Linked DNA regions of Homo sapiens: region 1 is linked to region 2. The links are contacts of gene promoters, found by promoter capture Hi-C in blood cells and fetal thymus (Javierre and others, 2016). All regions are on one chromosome and are shown on one strand. Each heading gives the region's core, a stretch centred on a gene start or on the middle of the fragment in contact. The rest is flanking DNA. Distances are from core to core; before and after follow the strand shown.

Region 1 (5,063 bases), core at 798-3,297, 260 kb after region 2:
CAGCAATTGTGACTGACGAGGAACAGCTGGGGTGTCAGGCCATCTGGACCAGGGCCAAACGAGGTCTGGAGAGGGTGGGTGGAAAGACCGAGAGGGGTCTGGGGCCATGAGGTCAGGCGAGGCCTGGACGAGGTGGAAAAAACCAGGAGCTCAGACACCAGCAACCAAAGAGGAAAAGGCTGGAGAAGATGCCGGACAACTGTTCTTTGCCAGCCTAGCAGACTTGTGGGTGCTTTCCTCCAACAGGAGCAGGCCGTGGGGCTCTCACATTCATCAGCTTCCTGGTTCCTGGAGGCTGGGTCTCACCCGACCTGGAGAGCTGCAAGAGCTCCATGCTGTCACTGCAGGCCCAGGACTGAAAGATCACATTAAACTGTCCTTCCACCTAATGTTCACTCTGTGATTCTTTGTGTACGTGCACCTCCACTCCCAGACGGGGAACCTCAAGGTGGTTTCCTTTACATGCCCAGTCCCAGGGATGGCTCATGTCCGCACTGGGGCACACCAGGTCACAGATGCTGGTGGCTATTTGAATGATGAGTGGTGACAAGGATGTGGATGGATGCCTGTGTCGGGGCAGGTACCTGAGAGGGCTGGAGAAGGGAGTGGATACCCCTAGGTCTCTCTTGACTAACAATAAAGATAGGACCAGCGTCTTCGTTAGTCCTTGGTGCTGGATTCTGCCCGTCTACTGTATGTGCAGGGAGGAGAAGGGCCAAGGCTACCCCCACCGTGTCTTCCCAAGGTTCCAACTCATGCTTTTTAACCTCCAGGCACAGGCTTGGCCTGGAAGCTAAGCCCAAGAAAACAGAGCCACAAGAAGAACAAAGCAGAGGGGTTTATTATAGGAACATTCTCAAACCGCAACGGAAAAGATGTCCGTACAGGTGGATGGGGATGGAGATCCACCTCGGAGTACACAGACTTCAGGGGGCCTCCTGCCTGGCACGTTCTTTCTCTCCCGTATCACCTAAGACCCTGAGACCCCCACCCTCTGCAGGAGAGACCCACAAAGAAGCCTCCTCCCTGTGGCCTGGCTCCCATCAGGGACAGTCCTGTTTTTAGAGCAAGAACAGTCTGTACTTCAGACAGGATCCCAACCCCCACCCAAATTCAATGTCGACCGTCTGAGCAGCCAGCTTCATTGGCTGCAAACGCCTCTCTCAGGTGAGTCAAAGGAGACACGACGGGGAACCAGGGGGCCCTAGGTGAGGATGTCATGGGCCTGGTGCTCCACCAGCATCTCCATGCTCTTCACATCCGTGCACCAGAACTCCAGGCGGTCCTTCATTCCCTTGATCTGAAATGGAAATCCGGACACAAGGGACGTTAAGACACGCAGGAGACACAGGCCGAGCGGCCGGCACAGCACCTGATGGGGTGACTCTACATCTCCAGCTAACTCTCTAGGGCAGCTCTAGTAAAAAGGACCTCTGAGCTGGGGGAGTGGGACGGGACTTGCCGGGTTAATTCTTTTCACAGGAACGTTAGAAAAAACTTGCATGAAAGAAAGCAGACAAGGACAGAGGAAATCCACAGGATCGCATTTCCAGCAAATGTAAGAGCGACGTGAGCTCAAATCACAGAACCAGGAACGTATCTGATCAGAGCTCCTATCTTAAGATTAAAAGGCACCGTCAGCACAACCAGTGCCATTGTCATCATAAGCTTTTAAATGCAGGGTTCAAACCCTAGGCTTGCATTAAATTAGGCTCTTAGAAAAACCCAACAGCAGTATTTCCTTCTCCAAAACCTCTTGTCTAATAATGCTGTCTTCCCAAATGGCTTCCATCCAAATGAAACTAAGACGGTATAGACACAACCCCTCAAAATCCACAGAGGTGAATAATGGGTTTCAAACACATCACCTGTTGCAAATCCAACACTCGGGGCTGCACCCAGGTCATGTGGACTCGTTTGTCCACCTCGTCTATACTGCCTTTCACCAGCCCCACCGAAAGGGCCTTCATCACCAGAAGCTCCACCTGTGCAGAGAGGGAGGCGTGTGTAAGACAAGATAGCCTGACACACCCCCATGGACCCAGATGGCTTGTGAGAAGCAGATGCCGCTCCTCCCGTCATTTTTTACTGTCTAGGGAGCACAGCGCTCACACAAGAGCCTTGACTCCTCCATGTGGCAGCTTTGCTGCTCTAACACCCTGAGCCTAGGGACCGTACCTCATTCACTGTGATTTTAGCACTTTTGGCAATTTCTTCAAAAGTGAGTTGTCTGTGATTGGCAGGTCGTGTGAAAGTCATCTGGAAAAAATTTTATTAACTATTTTAAACTATTTTTCCAAATAAAAATAGAGAACTGATAAGGATGTTTTGTCAATATTGGCTCTGAAAATAGAGATCTTATTAGTACCCCACATACTAAAAAGTTTCCTAATATTAGACATATATCTTGTTAAGAACAAGCTTTTAATGCTTAGATAAGAAGGATAACAGCAAAATGCCTTACAGGAGTTTCTGACAGTAGCCATTGTTCAATCCCCGAACAAGTACTTGAGGCCACAATTTGCCAGGGTTGACCAGGGGTGACCACGGCAAACCAGAAATCTAAGGGCCACTTCCTGACGAAGCTTAAGTTCTAGTGGGGAAAGACAGATGTGCGTGTACACAAGAAGCGACATGCAATGAGGCAACAACTGCATCACGGGGAGAGGGGCAGCTACTTCATCTCAGTTCAGATGGTCAGGGAAGGCCTCAGGGTGGTGGCAGTGGGGTGGGAGGGTGTCGTCTGAGCTAAGAGCCAAATATAAACTTAGAAGAGCAAGTGGTAGCAAAGGAAAAGGAAGGTGGTGAAGAGAGCGGCGCACAGCAGAAGCAGCACCACTGAAAGCTCACACTGCTCAGCACAGGCTTGGAGAGTGCAGCGCCCCCACCTGACCAAAATCTGAAACCACAGACAAAGTGGCTCCTGGGTGTTCGCTTACCTCCATGAGGCACAACAACTGAATTTTCCTCAGAAGCTGGGCTTCATTAGCTGCTAAATCAGGCTGTAAAGTATAGAAAGACAGAAAAATGTCTTCCATGTTTGTGCTTATCAGTTACTTAACTGGGGATCTGGAATTCGTTCTATAACAGTAGACCCAACAAAAACCAGCTAAGCAGATCCAAACATTTCACATTGCAGACTGCTGAAGCTCATTAACAACAAGTGATCTGAGCTTCATTCTTCTTAGGAAATGGAAAGAGTCGCACCTAACTGGGACACTTTGTCAAGGCAAGGAATTTACAAGGTAAGATTTGTATTAATGCTACAGACACCATTAGGCAGGGCCACAGGGTACGGGCATTTCGAGAAGACTCTCCTGGTCAAGGTGCTGTTGGGAAGGATACACCCTACTGCCCAGGGGGGTTCTTTCAAGGGCTGCTGCCGGCTCAGTGAGCCAGTGCAAGTGGAGCCCCTCTGAGGAAAAGCTTCCTTAAGTTCTAGAGACTTGTTCTGAATCAAAAGAGCAAGTTATTAATTTATAATGAAAAATATCATTGTCCTGAGAACTAGAATATACGCTTCTGCAAGATATGCATCATCTCTTCTTATGGATCAAAACGTTACCTGTGAGCACAGAATTAAACCAAGGAGACTTGTTGTTTTAATTCAAATAGCAACTCATATCCTGACACAGGTAGCCCCGATGGGGACATTTCTGCCACAAGTACTGGACAGGTCAAGCTCTGTAAAGGGCTCACTACCCCTCCAGACAGGCTTTGCTGCCTGAATAGATGCTGCCAACATGCATCTACGATTTTTTTTTTTTCTTTAAATTGCTATAACTAGCCATCTTCCTTTCTGAGTGTCACCTTTTTTTGAGATATCAATAAATAATCAGACCACAGTTAGGTCTGGCTGCATCTGTGCTTTCTGCCTCTTCACAGTGCCTTCATCTATATCTACCCTGCTCCACTATGCATGAATTTTACAAGTTTATTTTAAACTGAGAAAATTGAAAGTTTCAGAAAAATACAAAAATAACCATAATTCCTACCACAGTTAACATTTTATTAATATTTACTTCTAATAATCTCATTAAAAAAGAACATACTTATCATTAAAGCTCAAGCCCTTGTTGAGCACCTTTCCCTAACTCCCACCTTCCAGAGACAACTTCACCCAGTGCCTGCCCTCCCCTTGCACTGAGGTGAATTGGCTGTTCTCCCTGCATGGACCTCTCCCTCTCCCCGCACCCGCCGCTCTCCCCCTCCCCGCACCCGCCGCTCTCCCCCTCCCCGCACCCGCCGCTCTCCCCCTCCCTGCACCCACCGCTCTCCCATTCTCTTCACCAGGCATTTGTTCCTCCTTCATCCCATGCTCTCTCCCACCCACTCATGTTAGCCTCACACATCCCTCTTTCAGTTCAGCAAAGATACTAAACTTTTCCGTTTTCTCCGCTGAGTGCACTCTTCCCGTACCTCTTCACTCATTCCTAAGGTCACACAGACCTTAGGTCACTATGACTTCTACATCTTCTGTGACACCCCCTCCACCCAGCGTAGATGCAGGGCCCACATTCGATTCTGTTTTCTCAGAACACCCTCACTCTTTGTCTGCAGCACTGAGTAATGCTGTAGCTAACCAACCACTTAACTCTCTGCTCTATGAGAGCAAGGACTAGCCTATCTTGGTCTCCTCTTTGCCCTGTTCTTTCCTGTGTGCCTAGGGAAGACGCTCAATGAACATCTGTTGTATGAGCGAGTAGATACATGGGGGAATAAGGGCTGGGCATCGTGGGAGTCCTACCTGCTGGCCCCAGGCAGTCTTCAGAGTCTGGAACCGCTCTACGTTGCCACTGTTGAAGGCATAGAGGGTGTCAATCAGCCACTGCCGGTCAGTATTCCTCAGGGACTCCAGCACAGGGTGCATGAGCTGTGAGGATGGAGATGGTCAGCTAGTAACACTTTAGTCTCTCTCGTTAAGGAAGCTGAGCTCAGGGTCAACTTACGAGTTCTCCAAAGTTAAAAACTCCCTCGCCGAGAAGTCCTGCTAGCCCCAGCGTGAAGGCTCTCTCCTGCTGCTCAGACACTATGGTAGCAACACAGGCCCACTTACAATCCAG
Region 2 (4,678 bases), core at 1,665-4,164:
CCTTTCATGGGGAATGTAAAAGCTCCCTATTTAAGCTAACGTGTAGGCTGGTGGGGCTGGATGTGAGGGAGGGGCAGGTGGAGAAGGAAAGGGCAGCATCCCTCAGATCTGTGTGGAGCAGGATCGGAAGGAAAGGCACACTCGAGTCGGCCAGGACCCGGGGAAATGAGCGAGAATGGTCAGCTCTGGGGCGGTATATAAAACTGGGGGTGGGAATACTTCCATATACTCCCAATTCCACAGTGGGTGAACTGAGTAAGTTTAAAAATAAGATAAAGACATAACGAGGTGAGGCAGGTAAGTTCAAAAATAAAAATGAAGGCCAGGCACTTTGGGAGGTTGAGGCGGGCGAATCACAAGGTCAGGAGCTCGAGACCATCCTGGCTAACACGCTGAAACCCTGTCTCTATTAAAATTACAAAAAAAAAAAAAAAAAAAAAATTAGCCGGGCGTGGTGGCAGGTGCCTGTAGTCCCAGCTACTCGGGAGGCTGAGGCAGGAGAATGGCTTGAACCTGGGAGGCGGAGCTTACAGTGAGCCGAGATCGCGCCACTGCACTCCAGCCTGGGCGACAGAGCGAGACTCCATCTCAATAAAATAAAATAAAAATGAAGACATACCTTTCAGGGGCTGTGGCCGCACTGTCCAGGAGGGAGGCCCGGCCACAGACACCATGCTGGCCGTGCGCTCAGCACCTATACATACCTGGGCACCTTCCCCACAAGGTGTCACAAAAGGGAGCCCAACAGCCATTTTAAACATTTTCTTCACTCTTATGAGAATTGCCACGAACAAATCTAAGAGATCATGGCAAAGAAAAGAATGAAATGAAACCAGAACATTTCAGCAGCTTTTGCAAAGATGTCAAGAGAACCAGTCCAGGAGTCAGACTGGCGGCATCCTTCCAGCTTCTTGTCATGAATTCTAAACCTCACATCCAGACTCCAAAGCTTAGAGAGTTAAAGAATCAGCTACTGGTCACCAAGCTCACGTGTGCAGGATGAGGGTCACAGCCAGGTTGGCTGCCTTCCAGCCCTGAGCTTTCTTGGGGGTGTGTGTGTGTGTGTGTGAACCACCTTCTTTTTGAGACGGAGTTTCTTTTTTCTTTTTTGAGATGGAGTTTCGCTCTTGTTGCCCAGGCTGGAGTACAGTGGCACGATCTTGGCTCACTGCAACCTCTGCCTCCTGGGTTCAAGTGGTTCTCCTGCCTCAGCCTCCTGAGTAGCTGGGATTACAGGCATGCACCACCATGCCTGGCTAAGTTTTTGTAATTTTAGTAGAGATGGGGTTTCATCATCTTGGCCAGGCTGGTCTTGAACTCCTGACCTCAGGTGATCTGCCTGCCTTGGCCTCCCAAAGTGTTGGAATTACAGGTGTGAGCCACCGCGCCCAGCCAGAGTTTCATCTTGTTGCCCGAACTGGAGTGCAATGGTGTGGTCTAGGCTCGCTGCAACCTCTGCTTCCCGTGTTCAAGCGATTCTCCTGCCTCAGCCTCCCAAGTAGCTGGAATTACAGGTGCCCACCACCATGCCTGGCTAATTTTTGTATTTTTAGTAGAGATGGGGTTTCACCACGTTGGCCAGGCTGGTCTTGAACTCCTGACCTCAGGTGATCCACCCTTCTCGGTCTCCCAAAGTGTTGGGGTTACAGGTGTGAGCCACCACGCCCGGCCAGAACCACCTTCTTTAAAGATGATCAGGCCGGGTGTAGTGGCTTATGCCAGTAATTCCAGCGATATGGGAGGCTGAAGCAGGAGGATCACTTGAGCCCAATTCAAGACCAGGCTGGGCAACACAGGGAGACCTCTTCTCTACATAAAATACAACAATTAGCCAGGCGTGCTGGCGCCTGTGGTACCAGCTACTTGGGAGGCTGAGGCGGGAGGATCACTGGAGTCCGGGAGGTGGAGGCTGCAGCGAGCTGGGATCGCGCCACTGCAGTACAGCCTAAGCAGTGGAGTGAGACCCTGTCTCGAAAACAAATACCTAATAAAGGCAGTCAGAGGAGAGGTTTAGCAAATTGCTAAAGAACAAATCTGAGATACCGTTAGTTTCCTTACTTGCAATCTTCATCTGCCAAAATGTCAATTCTGTGAATTGCGGACTAGTCAAAAACTTAAAGAAAACCCACTTTTGTGGAGGTGGGGTCGCTTTGCGTTTCCCAGGCTGGTCTGGAACTCGGCCTGCGCCCCTCAGTGCCAGGGCTCCAGGCGACGCTCGGGTGTCGGCAGCAGAGTGGACGCAGGAGCAGCTCGGACCGCGCTCAGAACACTCGGGACGAGGCCGCGGCTCCGCAGGCCTTGCGGGCTGGGGTCCCACGAAACAAAGGCGGCAGCCAGTGGCCAGGACGGGCAGCGTGGTTCACGGGGCCGTGGCTCCCTCGGGGGTCGCGAGCTCGGCGCAAACGAGCCCCTCTACCAAGGTCGCCTAGAGTCGCGACCCCGACATGCGGAGCCGCCCCAGGGGGGTTTCTCCCGGGTCCCTCCTGTCCCGAGGCGGCCGCTTTCTCCGGGGGCCGCGCCCCGCGCCCCAGCAAGGCCCGACCCGCGCCTGCGATTCCGCCCCCAAGGCGCTGCCGCACCGGGCCCCGGCCTCTTCCTCCGAGGATTCTCAGGAATTGCTGAGACTTGCGTGCCAGTGCGAGGCCCACAACACGCACACGCGCCCGCGCCCGCCAGACCCCGCCCCCGGCACCAAGCCCCGCCTACTGGGGGAGACCACGCCCCCAAGCGAGACCTCCCTCACCGAGCCACGCCCCACCAGGCCCCGCCGCTGCGCCAAGACTGTGCTTAGCCGAGCCCCGCCCGCCGGGCCCCGCCCCGACCCCGAGACTACTCCCGCCAGGCCCCGCCCCCGCGCCGAGCCCCGCCCAGTAGTCCCCGCCCACGCACCTGACCACGCCCACGAGCCGGCTCGAACACGCCCGCGCCGCTGACTGGCGGGTGGGGTTGTCGACACGTTCAACCCGTTCTGCTGGCTCGAGAACGAAGTAGGCCGTCTCGCTCTGGGTCTCCAGGCCCGCGACCGTCCGCCAGTCGTCCCGAGGTCAGTAGCTCCAGCGGTGCGTCAGCGTCTAGCCAGGCCTCGCCCACGCCGGCCTTGGTCGGGCTTCTTGTAGACGCGGGCCTGGCGCTATTGAGGCCGTTGCTGCGCGGGCGAGTGGCGCGCTCCCGTGGCGGGGCGGGGTCGGGCGGGGCAGGGGTCCGGGGCTATCGAGGCGGGGCCGAGGTTGCGCTGGGCAGCTGCGCCGCCGGGCGGACGTGGCGCGCCTTGAGGACGTCATCGCGGTGCACGCTCCCCTTTGGGGCTTGCCGGAAGTCCTTGCCCGGGGCGCGGGGCTGCGCCTGCGTGGTTCGTCCTCACGTGGCCGTCAAGCCCTCTAGTGCCTTAGATTCCAGCGAGCTACGCAAGCAATCCTGGCCCAGCCGAGCTTGCTTCCCCAAATCCCGTAATCCTTGACCTTATTCCCCCAAAGAAGCGGCCTCCCGGGAAGGAGCGCCCTGGCGGAGAAGACTCGAACGGCTCCCACAGCCGGGCGTTGGGGGAAAGGTGGGCGGTCTTGGTCGTGCGAGGTCGGGGAGGGAGGGTCCTCCGCTCTCCATTGCGGAGCTTCGCTCCGGGACCACCGGGGGACCGGACGCCGGGCCGCGAAGCTGCCGCCTGGGGCTGCGGGGAGGAGAGCAACATAACTGGAATGGCACTTAGGGGCCGGTGTCAGGGTTGTCACCGGGGTTGGCGGAAATGACGAAGGGGCCCCAGGCACGTCGTGTTACTGGGCGAGGTTCCAGCCAAGGTGCCCACGCGCCTTGGGGGAAACCAGAGGACTTCTGCACCGTTTCCCGAGGACAGTTTGGCAGTGTTTCAGAAGGGCCTTAGAACCAGGCAGGCCCCCTTCTAGGATGGTGGAAAGCCTAAAGATCTGAAAACGGTCTCAAGTGTCGTCTTAGCGATTGGCTGACTAAACCGAATGCAAGCCGGAGACTGCACACGATGTTGCCGTTAACAGTTACACTGGGCCGGGCAGTCAGAGGCAGGCGGATCACCTGAGGTCAGGAGTTCGAGAACAGCCTGGCCAACATGGTGAAAACCCGTCTCTACTAAAAATACAAAATTAGCCGGGCGTGGTGGCAGGCGCCTATAATCCCAGCTACTTGGGAGGTTGAGGTAGGAGAATGGCTTGAACTCAGGAGGCGGAGGTTGCGGTGAGCCGAGATCGTGCCACTGCACTCCAGCCGGCTGACAAGAGCGAAACTCCTTCTCAAAAAAAAAAAAAAAAAAAAAAAGTTACATTAGGCTGGGTGCGCTGCAGCCTGTAATCCCAGCACTTTGGGAGGCCGAGGCGGGCGGATCTCTTGAGCCCAGGAGTTTGCGACCAACATACTGAGTTTGGCCAAAATAGTGAGACCCCCGTCTCTACAAAAGATAGAAAAAATTAGCCAGTTGCGGTAGTGAACGCTTGTAGTCCCAGCTACTTGGGACGCTGAGGGAGGAGGAGCACTTGAGCCCTGGAAGAGGAGGCTGCAGTGAGCTATTTTCTCATCCCTGCTATAACGAATTTGTCACAGGCTGTTTTATAGGCCTGGAGCTCAGAAGCCCGAAGTGAGTTTTAGGAGGTTAAAATCAAGGTGTTGGCAAGGGTAGTTCCTTCTGGAGTTTCCCAAGGAGAATCTGCTTCTTTTC

What was found. The method cuts DNA at HindIII sites, captures the fragments that hold promoters and counts their contacts. A CHiCAGO score of 5 or more calls a contact.
Region 1: a contact is called between a fragment that was not itself captured here and the fragment with the promoter of RNH1 in region 2, in 2 of 17 cell types (total CD8 T cells and total CD4 T cells). The highest score is 5.5, in total CD8 T cells.

Annotation. Positions count from the first base shown.
Region 1 is chr11:248,742-253,804 of GRCh38, reverse strand. It overlaps PSMD13 (proteasome 26S subunit, non-ATPase 13), which reads right to left. Exons shown (of 13, transcript NM_002817.4): 8 at 4,950-5,029; 9 at 4,748-4,873; 10 at 2,940-3,002; 11 at 2,179-2,259; 12 at 1,869-1,985; 13 at 821-1,300. The coding sequence ends at 1,205. It also overlaps the pseudogene COX8BP. Among named protein-coding and RNA genes, the nearest start is that of PSMD13, 14 kb to the right of the region's middle. The HindIII fragment of the contact is 753 bases long and covers 1,671-2,423 here.
Region 2 is chr11:505,478-510,155 of GRCh38, reverse strand. It overlaps RNH1 (ribonuclease/angiogenin inhibitor 1), which reads left to right and starts at 2,914. Exons shown (of 11, transcript NM_203387.3): 1 at 2,914-3,043. It also overlaps a transcript of LRRC56 not described here. RefSeq lists a cis regulatory region at 3,560 and an enhancer at 3,476-3,645. The HindIII fragment of the contact is 5,455 bases long and covers 952-4,678 here.